Linked DNA regions of Homo sapiens: all the other regions are linked to region 2. The links are contacts of gene promoters, found by promoter capture Hi-C in blood cells and fetal thymus (Javierre and others, 2016). All regions are on one chromosome and are shown on one strand. The core of a region is centred on a gene start or on the middle of the fragment in contact, and the rest is flanking DNA. Distances in the headings are between cores, read along the strand shown.

What was found. Contacts are between HindIII fragments. The CHiCAGO score rates a contact against its expected background, and 5 or more counts as called.
Region 1: a contact is called between a fragment that was not itself captured here and the fragment with the promoter of FNBP4 in region 2, in 5 of 17 cell types (erythroblasts, M2 macrophages, fetal thymus and 2 more). The highest score is 12.6, in erythroblasts.
Region 3: a contact is called between a fragment that was not itself captured here and the fragment with the promoter of FNBP4 in region 2, in 4 of 17 cell types (fetal thymus, monocytes, M2 macrophages and 1 more). The highest score is 8.2, in fetal thymus.
Region 4: a fragment that was not itself captured here is called in contact with the fragment with the promoter of FNBP4 in region 2 in 1 of 17 cell types (monocytes); the score reaches 5.0 in monocytes.

Annotation. Positions count from the first base shown.
Region 1 is chr11:46,780,334-46,786,866 of GRCh38, forward strand. CKAP5 (cytoskeleton associated protein 5) reads right to left here. Exons shown (of 44, transcript NM_001008938.4): 17 at 4,155-4,340; 18 at 2,941-3,035; 19 at 95-152. Among named protein-coding and RNA genes, the nearest start is that of SNORD67, 21 kb to the left of the region's middle. The HindIII fragment of the contact is 231 bases long and covers 4,093-4,323 here.
Region 2 is chr11:47,764,196-47,770,771 of GRCh38, forward strand. FNBP4 (formin binding protein 4) reads right to left here and starts at 3,146. Exons shown (of 17, transcript NM_015308.5): 1 at 2,874-3,146; 2 at 1,075-1,167. The coding sequence starts at 3,093. RefSeq lists enhancers at 1,511-2,436, 2,231-2,290, 2,437-3,361 and a silencer at 2,551-3,160. The HindIII fragment of the contact is 14,946 bases long and covers 1-6,576 here.
Region 3 is chr11:46,800,056-46,807,033 of GRCh38, forward strand. It overlaps CKAP5 (cytoskeleton associated protein 5), which reads right to left. Exons shown (of 44, transcript NM_001008938.4): 9 at 1,145-1,249. Among named protein-coding and RNA genes, the nearest start is that of SNORD67, 41 kb to the left of the region's middle. The HindIII fragment of the contact is 2,298 bases long and covers 2,116-4,413 here.
Region 4 is chr11:46,818,092-46,825,055 of GRCh38, forward strand. CKAP5 (cytoskeleton associated protein 5) reads right to left here. Exons shown (of 44, transcript NM_001008938.4): 2 at 3,084-3,177; 3 at 219-412. The coding sequence starts at 3,140. Among named protein-coding and RNA genes, the nearest start is that of CKAP5, 25 kb to the right of the region's middle. The HindIII fragment of the contact is 8,913 bases long and covers 1-6,964 here.

The DNA.
Region 1 (6,533 bases), core at 2,958-5,457, 980 kb before region 2:
AAAAATAACTTTTTAAATCACAAAGATGGCAATAATAACTTTTTAAATCCACAAAGATGGCAATACTGCCCTATATATGTTGTTATGTACTCACTGGGTTTGTTGCAGCAAGAGCTGTCTTCACATTGCTAATGAAAGCTTTGACATTCAACCTAGAAGAAACATTTAGAATTAAAAGCAAACAAATGAAACCCTCAAAATACTCAATAACGTTTTATAAAGCCAGACTCTAGGACTGGCTCCCTTTGGCAAAGTTCTCACTTTTTCTCTTCCTACACTAACTTTATTTTATTTTATTTATTTGAGACAGAGTCTTGCTCTGTCACCTAGGCTACAGTACAGTACATGATAGCTCACTGCAACCTCTGCCTCTCTGGTTCAAGCGATTCTCATGCCTCAGCCTCCTGAGTAGCTGAGATTACAGGTGTGTAACACCATGCCCAGCTAATTTTTTTTGTTTGTTTGTTTTTAGTAGAGACAGGGTTTCACCATGTTGGCCAGGCTGGTCTCGCACTCCTTACCTCAAGTGATCTGCCTGCCTCAGCCTCCCAAAGTGCTGGGATTACAGGCATGAGCTACCACACCCAGCCTCCTACACTAACTTTAAAGTGAGCTTTAAATACTATCTATAGGCTGACAATCCTATTATGCTTAATTACAACTCCTAAATCCAATCTTGAACTCTCTCCTGAACTCCAGATTCACATCATCCAGCTGCCTTTGTGATATTTCCATTTGTATGCCTGGAAGACAGCCTACATCTAATATACTGAAACCAAACTCCTGATTGTCCTCACTCCAGTCCCAAAACCTGTTCCTCCCAGAGTCTTCTACACCTCAGTAAAGAGCCACATTGTTCTTCCAGTTATTCAGGCTATCCTTGACTTTTTGAAGTTATCCCTGACTTGTCTCTCTCTTGTTCTATTCTACTTTTTAAATATCTTATCAGTTATAACACTTCCACTTCTACAATCTATGTCCAAGCCACCAGAATTTCTCGACAGGATTATTCCAATAGCCTACTAATTCGTCTTCCTGTCTTTGATCTCCTCTCTGTCTTCTCTGACAACAGTCAGAATATGAACCTGTTACTCTTCTCAAAAGCCCCTAATGCCTTCCCAACTTATTCAAAATGTTGAGGCCCCACATGACCTAGCCCCTATTCTTTCTCTAGCTTTATCTCCTACCACTTCCTACCCACTCACTCATTGTCCTACAGCTACATTCTGAAGAAAAGACACTCCTTGCTATTTTAAATACATCACATGTACTCCTACCACAGAGCTTTTGGCATTTGCTCTTCCCTTGGTCTAGAATGCTCCTCTCTGATTATCACAGCTTGCTCTCTCATGTCCTGGTCTCTACTCAAATGTCATTTTTTCAGGAAGAACTCTTCAACTACTATATAGAAAACAACACCATCTAAACTATACCACATTATTCCATTTAACCCTTCATCCTGCTTTACATAAACATATATATGTAAAAAAAAATAGATATATATTTTTTGAGATGGAGTTTTGTTCTTGTTGCCGAGGCTGGAGAGCAATGGCATGATCTTGGCTCACTGCAACCTCTGCCTCCTGGGTGCAAGTGATTCTCCTGCCTCAGCCTCCTGAGTAGCTGGGATTACAGGCGTACACCACCACACCCAGCTAATTTTGTATTTTTAGTAGAAGCAGGGTTTCTCCATGTTGGTCAGGCTGGTCTCGAACTCCTGACCTCAGGTAATCTGCACACCTCAGCCTCCCAAAGTTCTGGGATTACAAGCATGAGCCACCGCGCCCGGCCTGCCTGCCTCTCTGTCTCTGTCTCTCTCTCTCTATATATATATTTTTAACTGTTTATTACCTATCTTTCTTTACTCAAATGTAACTCCCATGAAACAGAAATTTAATTTCGTTCATGATGTATTCTGAAGGACTGGAACAAACAATTGGAACATTGTAGTGGCCAATATGTAATTGTTTAATAAATGAATAAATGAAAGATCATAACAAAAAAGAGGAAAATATATGGCTTTTATAAGTGACATGCCAAGAGATGTGTGTTATATCAAAGACTATACAATTAAGAGGAATTATAACAATACCCTCAACTATGGGCGAACACCACAGATAATAACATAACAAACCGTTCTTTGTTATTTGAGTAACTTCTAGAGTAGTGTTTTTTCAATCAGTAGAACTCAAAATACCCTTTTACAAGATATTAACAGGCATGTTGCAAAATGTAGCATGGCACAGAGAAAGGTAACATAGTATAGCAGCTACATCATTCTTTCTCCAAACCAGAATGCCTGGATTAAAATCTTGGTTTTGCCACTTTCCTAACTATGATGGGCCCAAATTACTTAAACTTTCTGTGCCTTAGTCCTCATCTATAAGATAGGGATAATATAATACCTCGCTTAGTTGTTATGATGATTAAATCAAATGAATTATGATTTAGAAAGTGCTTTTTAAAAGTACCTGGGATAAAGTAAACTGTATAAAGTTTTGTTTTAAATAAACAACCGTGCTCTATAAGCAAATAAGTTTGGGAACAGTGGGTTAAACAAAGTTAAACAAGCTCTTCTATTGCAGGATTTCTGACAGCAGTTAATTCGCCAAGGCATACTATAGGTCTTTAAACAAATGTAATTATATACAGAAATTTCCTAATGTATTTGACTAGAAATTCTTGGAACTGGATTTTCTGTGGGACAGCTATTAATGCTTAAGGAAAAATAACGTAGAGAACTCTTTCAGTGAACATCAAAAAGCAGGAACACAAGCCAATATAGACCTTTGAGAACAAAGGTAATTTTCTTTTATATAAATGAGACAATCCAGCTCTCACTCTTCAGAAATAAACAGCAATAGCTATTATTATAAACAGCACGACTTAGAGACTGACAGAACATTTAACTATTTTCCACTTGATTTCGTTCTGACTTACCCAGAAAAACCAAATTCTTTTATGGCATTTGATAGCCAATTCAGAGTTTCTGACTGATTTTTGGGATTCTTTTGTGAGAAAGCCATTGACACAACCTGAAAAGGGAAAAACAGCAGATCTGTGTTTTATCTCGTATTTCTTATAGAAATACAGCATGACATTAAGGCAGATGTGCATTAAACTAGTTTTCTGACGCTAAAACAACTGCAAGAATGCCTTAGGAACAAGAGTGAACCTACACAAGAAAATGAGGTGAAATGATAGTAGGACTAAAGGCATTCTGGACTATTTATAGCTTTGCAGCAATTACTCTGCATTATAATGTTTTTTTTTTTTTTTTAGAGACAGGGTCTTGCTCTGTCACCCAGGAGTACAGTGGCACAATCATCAATCATTGCAGCCTCAAGCTCGTGGGCTTTCACCTTCTATAGAATTTTTTGTTTATTTGTTTTGAGACAGTCTCACTCTGTTGCCCAGGCTGGAGTACAGTGGCGTGATCTCGGCTCACTGCCACGTCTGTCTCCCAGGTTCAAGTGATTCTCCTGCCTCAGCCTCCCTAGTAGCTGGCATTACAGGTGTGCACCACCACGCCTGGCTAATTTTTGTATTTTTGGTAGAGACGGGATTTCACCATGTTGGCCAGGCTGCTCTCAAACTCCTGGCCTCAAGTCATCCTCCTGCCTCGGCCTCCCAAAGTGCTGGGATTGCAGGTGTGAGCCTCTGTGTCTGACCGAATATTTTTGACTAAGATGAATTTTCATCACTAGGCAATAGAGTATTTTTTAAGGTAAAAATAAAAATGCAGTATCAAAGGGCCGGGCATGGTGGCTCACACCTGTAATCCCAGCACTTTGGGAGGCCGAGGCAGGCAGATCACCTGAGGTCAGGAGTTCGAGACAAGCCTGGCCAACGTGGCGAAATCCTGTCTCTATTAAAATTCAAAAATTAGGCAGGCGTGGTGGCAGGTGCCTGTAATCCCAGCTATGCGGGAGGCTGAAGCAGGAGAATCACTTGAACCCGGGAGGGTTGCAGTGAGCCGAGATTGCACCATTGCATTCCAGCCTGGGCGACAGAGTGAAACTCCATCTCAAAAAAAATGCAGTATCAAAAAAGATTTTACTTGAGAAGATAAAAACTAATGTTTAATTAGTAAGCTTAAAGTTTGGGGGAAAAAATTGGGAAAACTAGAGGAATAAGACTTCTGTGTCACTAACCTGTTCAGCAGTCCATGGTAACATACAGGCTTCGGCTATTGCTGTCATAGCTTCTTTTGCATTGTTCCCACATTTCACATCTCCAATCTTGTCCACAAGGCCATCTAATACAACCTGAGCTGACGTTTTGGAAAAATTTCCCTTCTGGGCAATCAAAGCAACTATATGAAGCTTCATTTGCATCACCTGAACAAGGATCAGTATCATAAAGCTAAGAGCAAGCCAAGGACATTTATTTATTTACTTGTATTAACAGCATGTAACAGATATGACATGGTTAGGGACAGCTGGAAACACAACTAAAGTAAAATCAGGATTTTAAACAAATATGCAAAATAATTTGTATCCTTTAATTGTTACCAATTACTTAACTGACAGTGAAGAGAGGGAAAAAAAGCTACTCAGTGTTCCAAAATACTAACAAGTAATATTGCACAGAAAGTTTATTAATTGAAAAATCTGATTTTTAAATTTTCCTCCTCTTATGATTATTTGCATTTAGTACTGAATACACACCCTAAAATACACAATAAATTACTATACTGACTGCATAACTGAGAATTACTACTAGGGCTGCCTACAAAAACACTACAACCCTCTTATACACACATGCAACACAGAACTTCAGAGATTTTAGAGAACTTGTTGGCTTTTAAGTATAAGAATAAAAAGATCTGTGGAAAATAATTTAAAGATATTATTGTGATGGCAGACCTATGGGATTAAGGACCCCTTTGCTCATAAATATTTTTCTTTGTACTGTGTGAATATTTTAACTTTTTTTGTTACGCCACTAGAAATCCTATTATACAGATTAATTTAGGTGACAAATACTCCCATTTATTTATGTATTTATTTGACAGAATCTTGTTCTGTCACCCAGGCTGGAGTGCAGTGGTGAGATATCAGCTTACTGCAACCTCTGCCTCCTGGGTTCAAGCGATTCTCATGCCTCAGCCTCGCAAGTAGCTGGGATTACTTACAGGCGCCCGCCACCACGCTTGGCTCATTTTTGTATTTTTAGTAGAGATGAGGTTTCACCATGTTGGCCGGGCTGGTCTCGATCTCCTGACCTCAAGTGGATCTCAAGTGGGATCTCACCTCAGCCTCTCCAAGTGCTGGGATTACAGGCGTGAGCCACTGTGCCCAGCCACACAAACATCCTCTTTTAAAATGCAATTATCGCCTGGCTCATGCCTGTAATCCCAGCACTTTGGTAGGTTGAGTCGAGGGGAATGCTTGAGCCCAGGAGTTCAAGACCAGCCTGGTCAATATGGAGGGACCCCAGCTCTACAACAAGTACAAAAATTAGTTGGGTATGGTGGCCCTCGCCTGTAGTCCCAGCTACTTGGGAGGCTGAGGTGGGAGGATCACTTGAACCCAGGAGGCTGAAGCTGCAGAGAGACATGTTGACACCACTGCACTATCTAGCCTGGGCAAGAGAGTGAGACTTTGTCTCAAACCCCCAAAATTTGACATAGCAGGCATGTGAAAAAATAAAAATTTAAAAAATTAAAAAAAAAATTCCCAAACCAAAAAACAAACCAAAGAAATGTAATTATCTTGGGTGGGACTTCTGCAATTGTGGAGTCAATACCTCTGAAAAACTGATCTTCCTCAAAAGCAACAAAGAACACTGGCAAAAACTATCCAAATCAACTTATCTCACAACTCTGAAAATTAAATAAGGCTTGTAACATACAAGAACCATTTAAAGAAAGGATGCTGAATTTTAGTAAGGACAGTGAGGTTTCTGGTGATTTAACTTGCCTTGCTCCCCTTTTCTTCCAGCTCCACAGTAGCCTTCAAAACCTGAAGTCTTGTAACCATGGCAACTATGAAAACCTAGAGCTGTGCAGCCACTGGCAGGTGGGGGGACAGCTCAGGTTTGGACCTCCTCAAAAAGTTTTGACCCAAAGTACTGTCTTGTCTGGCAGCTTCCTAGAAAAGCTCCATTTGAAAGTCCTGTTATTTGACTGGACTCTGGCTAGCTCAGTGGGAAAAGCCCTATCCCCAGGGATTTTGTTGAAAACAACGAAAACAATGAGTGGCAACTGTTTAACATCTAACATCAGAACTGTGTAAGTCCATAATACCAGCTGGGGGAACCCAGCTTGGTCAAAAACATAAAAGGACCTAGGGAATAAGATATCCACAGAGGACTTTGAGAATCTAGAAGGTCATGCGAATATTCAAGGTTATGTGTATGCCCAGGAAAGACTGAAAAGGGCCCTAATCTCTGACTGACCTTCAAGACCTTGCTTAAAAAGTGAATTCCAGGGTAAAGCTGTAAAGTGCCTGAGTATCTCTGGCATGACCCAGCGCGCACACACACACAAACATACACACCTTCCCCCTTGGCAGAGGGTGGGAGACAGA
Region 2 (6,576 bases), core at 1,896-4,395:
CTCCACCTCCTGAGTAGCTGCGATTATAGGTGTGCGCCACCATGCCCAGCTAATTTTTATGTTTTTAGTAGAGATGGGGTTTCACCATGTTGGCCAGGCTGGTCTCGAACTCCTGAACTCAGGTGATCCGCCTGCCTCAGACTACCAAAGTGCTGGGATTACAGGCGTGAGCCACTGCTCCTGGCTAAATTCTACATATTTTAAATGAGTGTTAAGTCTCAAATGAAATAACATATGCAGTTGGCAAATACAAAATGGTATAATGTAGTTCTGAAATTTCTCTCACATTCAAATTTTAGCTTTCTAACCCACACTGGGGTGTTTTGTTTGTTTTTTTTTTTTTAGGTGGCAAATGGTGAGGAGAGAGGAATAAGCATCTATCATTTTAAGCATCAAATAGTACAAAAAGTATTCTGAACTGAAAAGAAATTACTACCAATTATAGAATATTTAATATTAAAACACATTTTACTCTTCCAAGATACACAGAGTAGAGAAAATTAACATTCCTGGCACTTACTATGTCACATCTGGAAATATCTCAGAGATAAAAGATCCATTTTACAGATTAATGAGGTTCAACCCAATTAGTAATTGCGCCAAAGTCTAAGTGTGAATGCCAGAGTGATGAATTGAACCCAGGTTTGTCTACAAAACCACTGTTGCAACTATGGCATTCCTTTGTACTTGAAAATATTTAATAAGATCAATTTCCAGGTCCACCAATGTTTGTTAGGTAACCAATCAAGCCAGAGTGTTAGAAAAGGAATAGGAGTTGGCATGCCTAATGAACACCAAGCTAGTGGGAGGACCAGAAAACTAGTTATAAAATAGCATCAGGAAAAAAAAACAGTAAAAAACGTTTTGGGTAAAGAAAAACAACAAATTTTGCACTGGTCAAAGTGTATATACATCAACATTCTCTCACAAACAAAAATAATCTTAAATCATATTTTTGGGAGAAATAATGTTAGCAACACTAAAGCATTCAGCAAAACATTCTATGTACAAACCCAACTTGACTTTAATGAAAGACGTGGGAGAAAAAATGTAAAAAACAAAACAAAAGCATACCTGTTGCTTTAACAGCTGTGGGTCTAGTGGTCATGACTGGTTTTGGAGGATTCTGAACAACTCTAGGAACCTCCTGCACCGCTTCCTGTTCATCTGGATTAAAAAAAAAGAAAAGAAAAGAAAAGAAAAGAAAAGAAAAGAAAAGAAAACTGCAGTCAGATTCCAGACCAGAGAAAACACTAGAGGTGACAAACCAACCTTTGATTTAACATTTCAGCTCTAGATTCCATCAATTTTTTAAAAAGTGCATTTCGGATGGGTTCGCACCTGTAATCCCAGCACTTTGGGAGGCCAAGACGGGGGGGGGGGGGGGCCACTTGAGGTCAGGGGTTCAAGACCAGCCTGGCCACCATGGTGAAACTCCATCTCTACTAAAAATACAAAAAATAAAAAAATTGCTAGGCATGATGGCACTCGCTTGTAATCCCAACTACTCGGGAGGCTGAGGCAGAAGGATCGCTTGAACCCAGGAGGCAGAGGTTACTGCAGCCTGGGCCACAGAGGAAGACTCCATCTCAAAAAAAAGAAAGGACATTTCATTGACCCAAATAATTGGGAGATAATAAACACAGAGCTGGAATCTTTTTTTTTTTTTTTTTTTGAGACGGAGTTTCGCTCTTGTCGCCCAGGCTGGTCAAACTCCTGACCTCGAGTAATCCGCCTACCTCGGCCTCCCAAAGTGCTGGGATTACAGGCATGAGTCACCGTGCCCTGGAGTCTTTCATCTGCTTACAAACTTCAACATCAAGGGAAGACTCTTACCATGGTAAATAAAAATTATTAATACATCTGCATGGCCGGGCGCGATGGCTCTCGCCTGTAATGATCGCTTGAGCCCTGGAGTTCGAGACCAGCCCGGGAAACATGAACTCCGTCTCTACTGAAAATACAAAAATTAGCCGGGCATGGTGGCAGGGTCCTGTAGTCCCAGCTACCCAGGAGGCTAAGGCGGGAGGATCGCTTGAACCCGGGAGGTGGAGGTTGCAGTGAGCCCAAGATCGCGCCACTGCACTCCAGCCTGGGCGACAGATTGAGACATTGTCTCGAAAAAAACAAAACAAAACTCTTAAAAAGTTACATCTGCAATACTTACAAATACATACAAAAACAGTAAGTATTCTCCAGGCTATGATAGGACCTTTACAAGACACACCAAACACTGCTATTGCGGATTTTTTCCAATTAACGAACCAGCGTGATCTCTGAACATGTGAAACGGTCGCGGCTTCTCCGGCGCCTAGTCCTGGAGTCACTTTTAATCTAAGCACCACTCCAGTGAGAACCACACAAATACTTAGGAACCTACCAGCTCCATTTCTCCAGCAGTTCTGCTAGTGTGGGGATGCTTACTAGCTGGAATATTAAGAGCTTTTTCTAAACGTCTCTATCCCCGTTTCGACAAAACCGAAAGGAGGCAGATGACGTGTGGAAAGGCCTGGCCCACAGTCACAGGCCGCGCACGCGGAAACTCATCCTCACATCCACCCTCTGCGTTACCCAAAACCGACCCGGGGCGTTTGGGAGACTCAGGATGCCCGAACTTCGGTCATATTTCAAACGTTCCCGGGGCAAGCCCTGCACCACAGATGGCGCCTCGGGCTTGGCCCGGGCCGAGGGCGCAGAACTCGGCCTGGCCCTTCTGCGGCCCGGAGCCCAGGGCCGCCCCGCCTGCAGGCCCGCAGCAGGCAGGCCTCGGAAGCCGACCTCGCCCGCCTCCCTCGCCGGGTCTGGCCAGGCGCCGTGAGGAGCCTAGGCCGCAAGCCCTGAGCTCGAGTTCAGGTCCCCCCGCGCACCCTTGCCTTCTGAAGGCGAGTCGTCCGAGGCCGCGGCGGCAGTCACCGCGGTGGTGGTGGTCGTCGCCGCCGACGGGGCGGGCTGGCTGGGGACCGCCGCGGTTGAGTCCGGCTCAGTGTCGGGTTCCGGCTCCGGGTCCCGGCCCGGCGTGCTGCCCCGAGGACCCGGCGGAGAGAGTTGCAGGATGGGCCTACGGCCGGGTACCGCCCGGGACTTCTTCCCCATCGCGAGCCCAAGCGCGAGCAGAGAGCGTCGGGCGGCCGAGAGGGGCGGGCACTGGAGGCTGGGCGCTGGGCCCTGGGCGCTGCGACGCGTAATCAATATTCATACACCGTGACACCGCCTCCAGCCCGGATCCGCTTTCAACCAGCGGAGCACGCGCTTGCGCAAGCGCCTCGGACCCTTCGGCTCTTCTGGCTCCTCCTCACCAGGAGAAAGGGCGGGATTACCAACTGCGCTAGGCGATTGGCTGTTTTGACCCAGAGAAGGGACCGGTGGCCAATGGAAAAGGAAAAAGGGTGAGAGTCCAGCCAATAGTGCGGTAGGGCCTGAATTAGAACGACTTCCCCACTTCCGTCGGGTTCCACCCATGCGCTTTCCCCAAGCCTTTTCTTTGCCTACTTGTCCTCCATCTTGTGGCTATTCTCGGCCTAGAGTTTCATGTTGTCTGTCTTCTAGAAAGGTGTGCTGCTGGGCCCAGCTCACTCACGCCTGTAATCTCAACACTTTGGGAGGCCGAGGCGGGTGGATCACGAGGTCAGGAGTTCAAGACCAGCTTGTCCAAGATGGTGAAACCCCGTCTCTACTAAAAATACAAAAGATTTAGTCGGGCGCGGTGGCAGGCGCCTGTAATCCTAGCTAGTCGGGAGACTGAGGCAGGCGAATCGCATGAACCCGGCGGCAAAGGTTACAGTGAGCCGAGATCGCGCCACTGCACCCCACCCTGGGTGACAGAGTGAGACTGTCTCAAGAAAAAAAAGAAAGGTGTGCTGTTTTCTGAGCCCTTCCCCACGTTTCGCCCGGATTATTGTGGCTTACTTTGGGTATAGCATTGAACATTAAATGGGACAGTGGGTCTTTTACGCTTTTGTAATTTCCTGCAGCACACAAATAGATGTCTCATATTTTCTCGCTTATTAGCTGGGAAAAATCACGAGATACTCCACTACCTACAAGGAAAAAGCCTAAAATTGTTGGGATGGCATACAGGAACCTTACCAGTTTTGTACTACTATCGTCAACATGCTTTAATTTACCCTTGCTTTAACACTGCCCCCTCTCCCGTCTCCTGCCTCTGGAGCCCGCCACTTGGAGCATCACCTCCCTCACTTTTCCTTTGCACTGACTGGAATAATTACTGCATCACATGATGAAAGTCTTTTATTGTTTCATCAGGGCGCAATGCAGACGCAGTGCAGGCGTGACCTCTCCTGCCCAGCCTCTCCCTGGCACTTGACATCCTGTTGACATCCGTCTCCCCTCTAAACTAAGGAATGCGAGTGGTATTTATTTTTATATCCGCAGCAGCTCAGTTCCCACTAAAAATATCTAATACTTACTGAGCTCTATGTGTCAGTCACCAAGCACTTTACACGTAGAATTGCATTTGATCTTTTAAAATGATTATTTCTAATTTTATTTTTAAACGTGTCTTGCTCTGTCATCCAGGTTGGAGTAACGTGGCATGATTATAGCCCACTGCATCCTCAAACTCCTGGGCTAAAGCCATTTTTTTTTTGAGACGGTGTCTCGCTCTGTTGCCCAGGCTGGAGTGCAATGGCGCAATCTCGACTCACTGCAGCCTCTGCCCTCCGGGTCCAAGCAACTCTCCTGCCTCAGCCTCCCCAGTAGCTGAGATAATAGGCGCCCACCACCACGCCTGGCTAATTTTTGTATTTTTAGTTGAGACAGGGTTTTGCCATGTTGGTCAGGCTGGTCTTGAACTCCTGACCTCAGGTGATCCACCCGCCTCGGCCTCCCAAAGTGCTGGGATTACAGGTGTGAGCCAGCGTGCCTGGCCTAATTTTTTAATTTTAATTTTAATTAATTTATTTTTGAGAGAGCTTCTCTCTGTCGCCAGGCTGGAGTGCGGTGGCACGATCTTGGCTCACTGCAATCTCTGCCTTCCAGGTTCAAGCGATTCCCCTGCCTCAGCCTCCTGAGTAGCTGGTACTACAGGCGCGCAGCACCTTGCCTGTCTAATTTTTTGTATCTTAGTAGAGATGTGGTTTCACCATATTGGCCAGGCTGGTCTAGATCTCCTGACCTCATGATCTGTCTGCCTTGGCCTCCCAAAGTGCTGAGATTACAGATTTTTTTTTGTATACAGAGTCGCCCAGGTTGGAAGGCAGTGGTGCGATTTTGGCTTAAGGGAGGAGACCACCCCTCATATTGTCTTATGCCCAGTTTCTGCCTCCAAAGAAAGAAAAAGTAAAAACTAAAAGGCAGAAATGAAATCCACAGGCAGACAGCCCGGCACCACACCCTGGGCCTGGTAGTTAAAGATTGACCCCTGACCTAATCGGTTATGTTATCTATAGATTAAAGACATCGTATAGAAAAGCACTGTGAAAATCCCTATCCTGTTTTGTTCCGATCTAATTACCGGTGCATGCAGCCCCCAGTCACTTACCTCCTGCTTGCTCAGTCGATCACGAACCCTCTCATGCGCACCACCTTAGAGCTGTGAGCCCTTAAAAGGGACAGGAATTGCTCACTCGGGCAGCTCGGCTCTTGAGACAGGAGTCTTGCCGATGCCTCTGGCTGAATAAACCCCTTCCTTCTTTAACTCGGTGTCTGAGGAGTTTTGTCTGCGGCTCGTCCTGCTACAGGCTCACTGCAACCTCCACCTCGTGGGTTCAAGCAATTCTCCCATCTCAGCCTCTGGAGTAGCTGGGACTACAGGCGCATGCCATCACCCCCACTAATTTTTGTATTTTTAGTAGAGACGTTTCACCATGTTGGCCAGGCTGGTCTTGAACTCCTGACCTCAAGTGATCTGCCTGCCTTAGCCTCCCAAAGTGTAGGGATTACAGACGTGAGCCACGGTGCCTGGCCTAATTTTTTTTTTTTTTTTAGAGGGAGTTTTGCTCTTGTCACCCAGGCTGGAGTGCAATGGCATGATCTCAGCTCACTGCAACTTCCGCCTCCTGGGTTCAAGCGATTCTCCTCCCTCAGCCTCCCGAGTAGCTGGAATTACAGGCACCCGCCACCACCCCCTACTAATTTTTTGCATTTTTAGTAGACGGGGTTTCGCCATGTTGGCCAGGCTGGTCTCAAACTCCTGACCTCAGGTGATCCACCCGCCTTGGCTTCCAAGAGTGCTAGGATTACAGGCCTGAGCCACCGTGCCTGGCCCGAAGAATTTGCTGGGTTTTTTTGTTTGTTTGTTATTATGTTTTGAGACGGAGTCTCGCTCTGTCACCCAGGCTAGAGTGCAGTGGTGCAATCTTGGCTCACTGCAAGCTCTGCCTCCCGGGTTCACGCCATTCTCCTGCCTCAGCCTCCCCAGTAGCTGGGACTACAGGCACCAACCACCACGCCCCGCTAATTTTTTTGTATTTTTAGTAGAGACGGGGTTTCACCGTGTTGGCCAGGATGGTCTCGATCTCCTGATCTCGTGATCCACCTGCCTTGGTCTCCCAAAGTGCTGCGATTACAGGCCTGAGCCACTGCGCCAGGCCAAGAATTTGCTGTTTTAAAGCTGTT
Region 3 (6,978 bases), core at 2,015-4,514, 960 kb before region 2:
AATTGTTTTTTATCTTGAAAAATTATTCCCAATATAAAAGTGTAAAATATCCTAAGTAATATAAAATTGATCAAAATGGCATATACACATCGATATTATATAATATTGATTGCTATAAAAATAGATTTTAATTTTATTTCAATTTATGATGTATATGTCTAAGGGTTTTACAGACCCTTATTTTTATTTCCCTAGTAATAAGCCAGTCATGATTTATTTTTATTTGGTAGTGTCTTCTTTTTCTTCAGTTAAGTTCTCTGAGATTATTTTTAATGCTATGAGTAAGCAAGCTCCAAATACCATAGCTCATGTGAGGCTAGGTATTAGCTTCACAATATAAAATGGACACATGACTAGGGACTATTAGGAAACTCCTAAGTCAGTCTAGGGAATCAAATGATGAAGGGGCTAGCAAGCTAAACTCTAAAGATCAATAAGGTCAATTTTTAGGATGCTGAGCCATTCTTAGTAATGCAGACCGGATTTAGAGGCCAAAGGACAGATGCCACAGTTAAAGAAAACATCTTAATTAAAATTATTACCAAATTTGATTGGAAACAAACTTATACAAATAGTAAGTCAACAAATGTCTCCAGTCAGATTTTCTTTGAATAAGTAAAACGGAGATAACCTATATAAAATATATAACATTGTAACCTATATAAAATGTCTCAAATATGTAAGTAAATTATATATTAAAATAGGAAAACAATGTAAAACACATTTTATATATTAACCTCACAGTTTTACATTTATAGTTTTACATTGCCTTTCCGACTCTCATTTTCATTCTGGTCCTGGTCGTTACAAGTTTTGTTTCATCTTGTTATGATGTGTATAATGTTGTAAGAACAAAGCAAGATACTAGTAAGTAAATAAGTAATAAGCAAATAAATAAACTCAACTAAGTACTTTAGGCCTAGTGCCTGACTTTCTACATAAGGCCTATAAATTTTGTTACAACTGACATCTACTGAAATTTCTAAGATATATCTATGCTGAATATTAACAAAACAGAGAGAAATTTACTTTGTACAGTATATACACATCTATGCCAAGGAGTTGTTTTAAAGCAAACAGCAAACTAGGCCTACCATTTTTGATAAATTTTGTTGATCTGTATCTAAAAAGGAGTGTTACTTACATGTCCTGCATATTGTCCAAATTTCTTCCTTAGCCCAACAGCCAGGCCAGTAAGACATTTTGCTGCCAAAGCCACCAACATGACATTGGTGTCCTTTCCAACAACCTACAAAGGGGGGTAAAAAGGAAAACAAAATAGTCACAGCCATGTAGAAGGGTATTGAAATTTTATTCTCAAAAGAACTCTGAGGCCGGGTGCAGCGGCTCACACCTGTAATCCCAGCACTTTGGGAGGCCAAGGTGGGTGGACCACCTGAGGTCAGGAGTTTGAGATCAGCCTGACCAACATGGTGAGACCCTGTCTCTACTAAAAATACAAAAATTAAGCAGGCATGGTGGCAGGCACCTGTAATCCCAGCTATTTGGAAGGCTGAGGCAGGAGAATCACTTGAACCTGGGAGGCGGAGGCTGCAGTGAGCCGAGATTGCACCATTGCACTCCAGCCTGGGCAACGCAGCAAGACTCCATCTCAAAAAAAAAAAAGAACTCTGAAAGCTCTTATGCTAATATATGACCAATTTTATTTACTACAACAGAGGAGAAATTCTTCTTTCATTGTATCGAATTTGGGAGCTTCCCTTCATTATGTTTAGTCTTCTATCTTAAAGTTCTACTAATAAAACATAGATAAAACCACAACATCAAATTGCTCACTATCCAGTAGTGGCAGTCTGGGCTGTCAGCACTGTTCAACTGTGCAGGAAATGACCCTGATAATGGCAGAGAGACGAGAGGTCTGCTGACTTTGCTTTGGGACAAGGAAAATGAAAAGGCAATGTATCTCTGAAAGACATCACAGGGCAACAGCTCTAATATTCATAACCAAGAAGCACCAGTACAAACGGCTGCAGGTACCTTCAGGAAGTCCATGGGGACTCTAAATTGTGAATGCTACTGCATTCTTCTGAGAACCATTCTTCTGAGGGAGCTTCTGGCCTTGAGGCTGCCACTTCAGTCATCTAATAATGGTTAAGCTTCAATTCAGAGTCTCAGTCGATTCTCCTCTAGCACTGCTTATATTACTGCCCTCCTATGCCACAACCCACAAAGCCCAGCACTTATCTAAACTCACGGGTAGTAGCTGCATCTGTGTCAATTTAACAAGATACTGACTACGACTGGGTTCCTTCCTGGTAAGATTTTACTGTGGTACACTGCCCAATCAGTTGGTGTTAAAAAGCTGCTTTATTATATAATAATACAGGCAGTGTGACGTGTGCCTGTAGTCCCAGCTACTTGGGAGGCTGAGGCAAAAGGATCACTTGAATCTGGGAGGCAGAGGTTGCAGTGAGTGCAGATCGCACCACTGCACTCCAGCCTGGGTACCAGAGCAAGACAGACAGACAGACAGACAGACAGACACACACACACACACACACACACACACACGGCTGCTTTATTTATAAATGCACACACACACACGGCTGCTTTATTTTTAAATGCCCCCAACTCTTCTTTTTTCACTCTTTTCCCAGTAAGAGTAATGCCTCCAGTCTACTTTGAATTTTATCTAGTCCCTACAATGTGGTGTTCCATAAGCAGAATGCTTTATTCTAGATTCTCTGCATTAAACAACTCCTAACATGCAACATGAAAGAAGTTCTACTTGGCACTTATATGCACTCCTTAAGTGCTGAGGAATAAGGATAAAGAAACTAACATTTATTGAAAAAACAAATTAGGCACCAAAATTTTGTAGGCACTTTATAATCCTTTTTAAGTTTAATTTTCACCCAAACCCTATGAGGTAAGGACTATTATTATTTCAACTTTGCAGATTCACAGCCAGGCATGGTGGTTCACGCTTGTAACCTCAGGACCTTAAGAGGTTGAGGTGGGAGGATCGCTTGAGCCCAGGAGTTCAAGACCAACCTGGGCAACATAGCGAAACCCTGTCTCTACCAAAAATAGAAAAATTAGCCAGGCATGGTGGCATGCGCCTGTAGTCCCAGGTACTCAGGAGGCTGAGGTAGGAGAATCTCTTGAACCTGGGAGGCGGAGGTTGCAGTGAGCCAAGATCATACCACTGCACTCCAGCTTGGGTGACAGAGCGAGACACTATCTCAGAAACAAAAAAACAACAAAAAAGTGCAGACTTCAAAAAGATTTTTTTTTTGAGACAGAGTCTGGCTTGATCTCAGCTCACCGCAACCTCCCCCTCCCAGGTTCAAGCGATCTTCCCACCTCAGCCTCCCGACTGGCTGGGACTAAAGGCACATGCTACCACACCTGCTAATGTTTCTATTTTTTGTAGAAACAGAGTTTCTTCATGTTGCCCAGTCTGGTCTTAAACTACTGGGCTCAAGCAATCAGCCCGCCTCGGCCTCCCAAAGTGTTGGGATTACAGATGTGACCTACTGTACCCAGCCAGATTCTAAAAATTAAATAAAGATTAATGTGCTTACAGTCAGGTAGTTAGCAAATGGTAATGCTGTGTGATTCAAACCCAGGTCAATTCTGACTCCAAAGTTTTTGCTCCTTTTATTAAGTAAAGCATGTTCTCCCTCTCAACTTGTGTTAAGTTCACTTTTCCTTACGAGAGGATGAGATCAGGGTCCTAATAAACATTTTGTTAAATCTCTAATTACTGTAAGTCTATGAAGAAAAAAATTTTCCATTCATTTCTGTATTGAAATCACTATTGGTATTTATAAATGTTCTGATTATTTTTCCTTATCAAAATACCTCTCAGATATGATTTAGATGCTAGGCTTTATATTTAGCATCTAAATATATATTCTAGGAATGGACATCAAAAACATGTAAGATCCCATTCCAACAAATTCTAGTTCAATGAATCTGGGATGAAATTTGGACATCAGTATTTTTAAATGGCTCAAAGGGTGATTTTGTCATATGGGCTCAGTTAAAAAACTATCATTCTATTCCTTTCTTAGGAGAATACCTCTCCCTATCCATTGTTGGAACAGTAACCAGTGGGAGCTAGACTCTAGACACTCATGATCTTATTGTATAGTATTGAAGAAGATACTGCGAATCTGTTAAATTTCAAGATTGCAAAGGCTCAAATAAACTTATAAGTGAGCAATGGACCAGATACCCTAATATAATACCTGCCTGTCACACTCATTGACACTCATTGTTTATTCCCATAAACAAGTTATTCTCAACAGGGAAATGAGAGTAGGGAAGATGGAGAAGTGTTTATTTTTAAGAAAAGTAACATATGAGGGGGGACTCCATTTCAGAGGTAAGAAAAACAATGACTTCTGTCTTTTCAGTAATTTCTGTTCTAGACCAGGGAATGGAAGCTTTAGCTCATAATCTCAATATAATTTAAACAATAGGAAATCTTGTACAGTTTTAAGTGCTGTCACTTTTCTCATAAATTGAGGCCTACAGTATTAAAACAAAGTGCTTTAAAGTAATTATCAATTGGTATTTATCTTTAACTAGAAATTAAAGCCACTAGTTAATAATAACTAAAGCACACCGTTGACAGAGGAAAGGAAACAAATTAATGAAACCCATTATGAATTACTGTGTTTAGAAAACTATGATGAAAACAAGCAATAATTAAGGGGGGAAAAGTAGAAAGAACAAGTGAAAAAAGATTAATACCACATAGAAGTCTAAAGATTATATAAGAAAGCACTTCGAAAATCCAAATCTTAATGTAAAGATAAATAAATTATATATATATAAAAAATCAAATGTCCATAGGCATAGGCACATGACAAAATCAAAGAAGCGATGAGCTGGGAGGGAGGCATCTTATAAATAAAAGAACTATAGGCCAGGCGCAGTGGCTCACGCCTGTAATCCCAGCACTTTCAGAGGCTGAGGCAGGCAAATCACTTGAGGACAGGAGTTCAAGACCAACATGATGAAACCCTGTCTCTACTAAAAATTAAAAAAAAAAAAAATTAGCCGGGCATGGTGGCACGCGCCTGTAATCCCAGCTACTCAGGCGGCTGAGGCAGGAGAATCGCTTGAACTCGGGAGATGGAGGTTGCAGTGAGCTGAGATCGTGCCACTGCACTCCAGCCTGGGTGACAAAGCGCAACTCTGTCTCAAAAATAAATACATCAATTAAAAATAATAGAAAAAAAAGAACTATAATCTGTGAGAACAGGAAAGCCCACAGAATATGCTAAATCAGGTGACAACTCAAAACAGTTTAAAAATAATTTCAGGAATATCATAAGAAATTTTAAAGTTAATGCCTTTTTACTACTTTCATTAAAGGAAAAAAATTGAGAAATTAATGGGATTACTTGATTTATACAATACAAAGAAGAGATAATTATAAGGAGGGAAAAAGGATTGGTCTGTAATCTATTCTTCAATCTCATCCTCTTTTTTCCATTTCACCATTTCCCCACTTTTTTCCATTTCACCATTTCCCCACTTTTGTTATGTTTCTAGGAAGTCAACATAATACAAAGTTTGTGTGTACATATAACTAAAATCAAATACAAAAAATAAAATGTCAGCTGGGCACCGTGGCTCATGCCTGTAATCCCAGCACTTTGGGAGGCCAAGGAGGGTAGATCACCTGAGGTCAGGAGTTCGAGACTAGCCTGGCCAACATGGTGAAACCCCGTCTCTACTAAAAACACAAAAATTAGCTGGGTGTGATGGCAAGTGCCTATAAATCCCAGCTATTTGGGAGGCTGAGGCAGAAGAATCACTTGAACACGGGAGGCAGAGGTTGCAGTGAGCCGAGATCGTGCCACTGCACTCCAGCCTGGGCAACAATAACGAAACTCCATCTCAAAAAAGAAAATAAAAAAAATAAAATGTCTCTGTCACTACTTAAGGCAAAAAGAAAAGAAAATGTCGTTTCAGGTTAATTTTTACAACTGAAGTTAACTTTTCATTGTTTTAAATATTTTAGCCACAAAATTCAGTTTCTTTTTACTTGTTTGTGGTCTCTGATTCCCTCCACCCCACCACGTGAAAAGGGAAAGAAGTTTCTACTGCTACCCTAGATCTCTCAGAAATCTATTGTCTGTCTACTCAAATATAAAATCCATGATGCTCTCTCTTTATATAGTACAGCAAGAGATTATATTTACATTCACAATGCCAATGGAAACCACAGAACTGTCTTTGTGTGAGAAGCTAATATCCTTAGAAAATACATGTAGAAAACACATAATATTAATGATAAGGAAAAAGAAAAGGTTTTCTTTGACACATCGAGAATTCAGCACCAGAGCAATAAGATTTCTAATTAATAACCAAATGCTGGAAGAATTGACAGAGAATCTGTAGCTCTCTTCATATGCCACTGGAACCTGACTTTCCTTGTCTCAGTGCCCTCTACTATTCCCCTTCCCATTCTTTCCTCCCAGGTTCCAGGTTGGTAAAACTCTTTTTCCCCTAGGGCAACTCTCTTTTAATTTATTTTACACGAGTGTAACTCTTCAAGATGGAAAATTGATGACTGAACAAAGATTTCACAAATCATATCTCTGCCTCCAAGTCCCACTGAAGGAAAGCCTAGGAAGGTTAACTACTAGAATATAGTTGATCCTCATCATTCACGAATCCATATTTGCAAATTCACCTACTTGCTAAAACTTGCTTATAATCCCCAAATCAACACTCATGGTACTTTCCTGGTCATTTACAGACAAGTTCAGAGCTGTGAACATTTTGTGTTGTCTATTGTGCACATTCCCAGCTGAGGTAGACAAGATAACACTCTACCTTCTTGCTTTAGCTTTTACACTATAAACAAGTGTCTTTTTCATGGTTTATTCAGTGCCATGTTTTTGCATTTTTGTGTTTTTTGTTGGTGCTCTTGTTGTTTAAAATGGCCCCTAAGTGTAGTGCTGAAATGCTGTCTAGTATTCCTAAGTGCAA
Region 4 (6,964 bases), core at 3,160-5,659, 940 kb before region 2:
CAAAATATTATTTCTAATTTACTCCTCTACAGATCTCATGTGCCATTTAGATTTCTGAGAATAAAGACTGAATGAAAAACAAGTATCAAGAAACTACGAAAGTAAGAAAATTCATCTATTCTAAAACTGCTAATAACTAAGGACAGTGATCTACAAACATACATTATGTAACACCAAACAGGGGTTTTTATCAGTAAAGTTGGAAAGAAAGTACTTACTTTCCTGCTACATGGGCATTTTCAACATAAACAAGTGCAGCTTCTAATCCTTTCAATTGAACCACTGCATTGGAATCAGTGACAAATTTTTTGATCAATCCTAAAAATTTGGACCACTCTGGGCTCTTTTCATCCTTTATTTTCTGGAAGATCTTCAGGGCCTCTTCATACCCACTTAACCTTGCTTTCCACAGCTAAAAGAAAAGTAGTATTTTGAAACAAAACATAATTTAATGATATTATCATCTACTATTAATCTGGGGGGGGAGGGTGTGAGAATAGAAATGAATATCCTATGTCAGGTAATGTAAACAAAGGACCCCATGACTAGAAATGAAAAAAGAGTTTAAGAAATTGGCAGTTTTCAAAAAAGATTAGCTAATAAACTTCTTACAAGTGTTTAGTGTTTATGATACTCTGCCATTCATAATAGGCCATTATAAATGAATCTCACATTGTATCTAAGAATTATTACTTCTTTATAATATTGTATTAAAGATGTGATAACTCAAACATGAGAAATCACCCTGATGAAACTGCCCCGTCTCCAAAGTATATGCTGTTTTTTGGTTCTATTTTTGTATAATCATTAGGTAGCTTTATATTACACTGTATATTAATTTCAGCTAGTAGATTCCGGACATTTTTACTGAGGTATTCTTTTTTCATTAATTTATTCAACAGGTGTTTAATAAATAAAAATCAATTCAGCTCTGGCCCTTGTGGAGCTTACACTCCAGCAGGAGGGGACATTAAGCTATAATACAAATAAATTTAAAATTAACAAAGCATTAAGTACTACAAAGGAGAAGCAACTTGGTGCTATGAAAGTATATATTATAAAAGGCTTTGTCTTAGTGTTAAGAAAAAATTTCCTGAGAAATGGTAATTGAGCTGAGCCCTGAAAGATAAATAGGAACTAATCAGGAAAGAGTGGCAAAAGGGGAGACAGAACATTCCAGAAGGAACAGTATACTCCAAGGCCCTATGGCAGCAGGGAATATGGTATTTCCCACTCCTATAAAGAAAGAGAAGGGGAGTATGGTACAAAGTAAGCTGGAGAGGATTGGAAAAGGCCAGATCATGCAGGACTATGAAGGCCAAAGAAAAGATTCCACTCATTATTCTAAGAGCAATGGGAAAGCAATGAAATGATTTGGGGGCAGTTAAATGAGAAGTTAGTTTGTGGGATGATCGAATTTGCATTTACTGTGTTAAGCATTAGTAAAGAATTAGATGTTTGTCCTCAACACTATTAGATCAAAGAGACAGAAGGATCAACATATGATTGAAAAACAGAAATAATTTACATGTTATTTGTTTAATGTAAGTAAAAATGTAATTGAAAATGTAATTGAATTGATTCAATTAATGTAATTGAAAATGTGATTTGGGGCAGGTGCTATGCTCACAGAAAAAACTCTTCCTTCTAAGGAAGGAATGCTGCCTAACCCACTATAAGATGCATTCATTAGGAAGAAGGCATTACCTATTCTGCAAAATTAGAGTGAAGTATAACATAAATTAACATCATAGTTGAACATTTACTAACCAATTTAAACCAGATTTATTTTTTTATTTTTTAAAATTGGGCAACATCTCATTCTATAAAGTAGAATGAGTGTTCCCTAAACAGATTTAACATCTCTATGCTTTAAGTTTCAAAAACACACAATAAATGCTCAAAAAATGGGAAAAATAAAGTACCAAATCACACGAGATTGAAAAACTCTTAGCACATATTAACCAATCAAAAATCGGAAAGTCTAAGATTTATCTATATTGTCTGCCCCTTTCAGTGAGAATATACAATATCTACCAAAAAAAGCATTATAGTTAACGATTCTAAATAAGTTCCAAAATTCTCCCCCAATTTTTGTTGCAATTTAATGTACTACATAACCAACAATTTCTATGCGAATTAGAATAAAAACCAACTAGCTCACTTTTAATCTGGCCTTATTTGAAGAGCTACATGTTGATTTTTGATACAGTATTCGGCCTTGGCTAATTTATTATATAGGATGAAGGAGTGGTTCTGTGGAGGATATAGGGACCATGGCTCCAAATTTCTACTCTACATAGGTAGAACTGTATGTATACAACTGTGTAAGTTAGTATATTTTATTCAGTATTTTTAGTAATCAACAACCATAAATCTTGAATACTCAGATTCAAAACAAACTTTAAAAGAACTGTCAAGAACATAAAGTGGTAAACCTGAGGACTTGGAGTAGAATAAATTTACAAGAAGAAATGAAATTCTAAAATCTACCAGATGGTAGATGTTTGTTTAAAATGATTAAAAATGAAAGAAACTAGAGGTATAGTTGGGGAAAAAATAAGATAATCTGAAAGGATGCCCACCAAATAATGACATGATGTAATAAATTGTATCTTACTAGCATAAACTAGAAAATAAAGATTGGTAGATTCTGAGGGTAAATATTGGAATGCCGATCATATAAATCAGAGAACCTAAAAAATGCTGGATTTCTAAGGCCAAATTCAGAACACATCTCAAAAGAAGAGTCTCTATATAATAAAATATTAGTAAGTACTTAGGTACCAGAAGTATATTGTACTGTATATACAAGGAGATGAAAAAACTAGCCAGTTACTTTTCATAGATACCACTTACTTTTCACTTCACTAATATCTTTTCTTTGAATTCTTTCCAGAGACAAAAAAATTTTTAGTTGAGCTACAGAAACCTATTTTCAATGAGAAAAAATAACATATCTAACAAGGCATCAGTATTTTTGAAACTGCCAATGTTTTCACACACTTCTAAGTAAGATGATAGTATAACTGCTCACAAAACAAGCCAACGACACTGAAAATCGAATTCCAGAAGAATCTTACCTTGTGTTCACATTTCTGATCAACTGGCAGTTTCAACCACTCACTGTCATCTCCCATTGTGCTTCCAGGTTTTCCTTAGAATTAAGAGTATTTCCTGGTCAGATAAAGGTAGAAACCTGCTTAGCAACCAGGCAGTCTCTTAAGACAAAAATAACTTTTCTGAGATTATTATTTTATCATTCATGCAACAACAAGAGTAAAAATCCCGTTCTTTCGTCAGATCCCCACTTAATTCAATTAACAGGACTTTTTTTTTTTTTTTTTTTTTGAGACGGAGTCTCGCTCTGTCACCCAGGCTGGAGTGCAGTGGCCCGATCTCCGCTTACTGCAAGCTACACCTCCTGGGCTGACGCCATTCTCCTGCCTCAGCCTCCCGAGTAGCCGGGACTACAGGCACCCGCCACCACGCCCGGCTAATTTTTTTGTATTTTTAGTAGAGACAGGGCTTCACCATGTTAGCCAGGACAGTCTCGATCCTGACCTCGTGATCCACCCGCCTCGGCCTCCCAAAGTGCTGGGATTACAGGCGTGAGCCACCGCGCCCGGCCAATAGAATTTTTTTTTTAAAGTCACTCAAAAGACAGGACACAGTGGTGGCTCATGCCTGTAATCTCAGCACTTTGGGAGGCTGAGGTGGGCAGATCACCTGAGATCAGGAGTTCAAGACCAGTCTGGTCAACATGGTGAAATCCCGTCTCAATTGAAAATACAAAAATTAGCTGGGTGTGGTGGTGCAGGCCTGTAGTCCCATCTACTCGGAAGTCTGAGACAGGAGAATCGCTTGAACCTGGGAGGAGGAGGTTGCAGTGAGCCAAGATTGTCCCACTGCATTCCAGCCTGGGCGACAGAGTAAGACTCCATCTCAAAAAAATAAAGTCACTCAAAAAATATAAATATAAATATATTGCAGTCTGGGCAACATGGTGGAACCCCATCTATACTAAAAACACAAAAATTAGCCAGGCGTAGTGGTGTGTGTGCCTGTAGTCCCAGCTACTCGGGAAGCTGAGGTGGGAGGACTACTTGAGCCCAAGAGACAGAAGTTGCAGTGAGCTGTGATCATGCCACTACACTCCAGCATGGGCAACAGAGCAAGACCCTGTCTCAAAAAAACCAAAAATTTGTTTTCTAAAAAATGATGCTTTTATTTTCCCAAATAAGAACTTCTTAGATATAAAACGAAGCTGGAATAAAACTGAATTGCTGAGCTAAATGGCCTTTTAAAAGGCCAAGAAAAAAGTTTTGGAAAAAGTCATACTTTCACCTAGAATTACTTATAGAAAATAATCAATATGGGGGTCGGGTGTGGTGGCTGACGCCCGTAATCCCAGCAGTCTGGGAGGCCGAGCCGGGCGGATCACGAGGTCAGGATCGAGACCATCCTGGCTAACACGGTGAAATCCCATCTCTATTAAAAACACAAAAAATTAGCCGGGCTTGGTGGCTGGCGCCTGCAGTCCCAGCCACTCTAGAGGCTGAGATAGGAGAATGGCGTGAACCCGAGAGGCGGAGCTTGCAGTGAGCCGAGATCGCACTGCACTCCAGCCTGGGCAACAGACTCCGTCCCAAAAAAAAAAAAAAAAAAAAAAAGAAAGAAAAGGAAAGAATCAATATGTAAAAATGTTGATACTGCCAAGCTCCCTAATTCTAGCAAACATGACTAGTCAATGTTTATATAAACAAGTACAAAATTAAATCCCTGAATGAACCTTTATACATATTCTTTATGTAAACCATGTTTTTAAGTGAGGTTTAAAGTCAACATCCTTTTAATAACTTTATGCTACCTATCTTCTTTTTTTTGAGACAGCGTCTTGCTCTGTCGTCCAGGCTGGAGTGGAATGAACACGATCTTGGCTCGCTGCAACCTCTGCCTCCTGGGCTCAAGCGATCCTTCCACCTCTGCCTCCTGAGTAGCTAGGATTTGGTGGGACTGCAGGTGTGCACCACCATGCTCGGCTAATTTTGAAATTTTTTGTAGAGACAAGGTCTCGTTATATTGCCCAGACTGGTCTCGAACTCCTGGGCTCAAGTGATCCCACTGATCGTGAGCCACCGCACCCACCCCTATGCTATCTATCTAGACAACACCTTTTTCTTATAAAAGTAATGTGTGTAAACTGCAGAAAATTTAGTAACTACAGAAAAAAATCTAAGTATTAAAATACAATTTTACCACCACCTAATAACCATGATGAACACTAAAGTACGTATCCAGTTTTTTTTCAATACACATGTAGTAATATAAATCATATGAAAAAGACAGGCATAATCCCCTTACAACATTTTTGTTATATGATCACAAACATTTTCCCAGATTTGAGAATATGATGTTTAAAGTCTACATAGCACTCCATTTTACAAATGTACCATAATTACCAACCCTACCATTGGACATTTAAATTGTTTCCAATTTTTCTTTTTCATTTTTGAGACAGGGTCTCACTCTGTCACCCAGGCTGGAGTGCAGTGGTGTGATCACAGCTCATTGCAACCTTGATGTCCTGGGCTCAAGTGATCCTCCCAACCTCCGCCTCCCGGGTTCAAGTGATTCTTCTGCCTTAGCCTCCCAAGGAGCTGGGACTACAGGCACATGTCACCATGCCCAACTAATTTTTTAGTTTTTTGTAGAGATGGGGTCTTACTATGTTGCCCAGGCTGGCCGATTTTTCAATATTATTAATAACATAGAAGCGGTCCTCCGTAATTCTCCATCCCTAGTTCTGGCCTGACATAAAATATGTTTTCAATAAATATTTGTTTATTGAATATATACTCTGGTAATATCTATTCTGAATCAGGCATGGTGCAAAGTACTTTTTAAACACGCTAATTCACTTTATACTGACATCAACTATGTGAAGGAAAGATATTCTCATTTTACACACTAGCTTCACAAATATTAAGTAACCTGCCAAAACAACAAAACTGGTAAGCAATGAAATTAAACTAAGATTCATAGTCTATGCTTCTTCCTTTACATTTTGTTCCCTCCCATGGCAAAGAAGAAAATGTCCCAGAGAAAGATGGAATTGTAAAAGTTTATTAGGATATGTGGAACTTTCATTAAGATTTTTCTTCAAAATCCCTAGGATTGCCATGAAACAGCAGCAGTGTAATTTAAAGGAGTCAGGAGAATCTGCAGGAACTCAAATACACCAATGATGGGAGACAGAATAGTTTAACAGTCTGGAAAACAGTATGGCATTATCAGATACACATGCCCTACCACCCAGCAACTCCATTCCTAGGTGTATAGCCTAGAAACTGATGCAAATTACACCAGAAGACCTATATAGGGATAGTCATAGCAATGTTGTTCATAGTAGTCAAAAGCTGGAAACAGTTCACATGTTCATCAAACTGTGCTTTTCAAACTCAGGACCAGTCTTCCCCCTACCACCCCCACCAACTGAATACTAGTATGTCTGTAAAATACAATAAAAATTATTATACCTCTGTATTTTTTAAGTTGAATGCCAAATGGTCCAGCTGCTGTGAATGCAAAATGGTCTAGCTGCTGTGTAAAACCATTTGGAAGTTTCTCAAAAAGTTAAAAGTATCATATAGGGATGAGCAGACTGATCTGGATTTTATAAACAGATATAAGAACCAAGTTTTTGCTACACAGTAGAGTTTGATGCCTAAAGAGCAAATAAAATTGCCAACAAAGAGAAGCATTAAGAAGATTAATTTGAACTATACATAATGCTTGCTGTGGTTTATTTGATCTAGTCCCTAGTAAAGACACATATTCAGAAATTTCAATTATTCAGAGCTCTCAGATTTTATCCCAGTCTAAAACTGAGGCAAAGACAAGTAGGTCAGCTAAAGTAAGTATGTTTTACAGATATATTATAATCATATACCACTGATCTAAA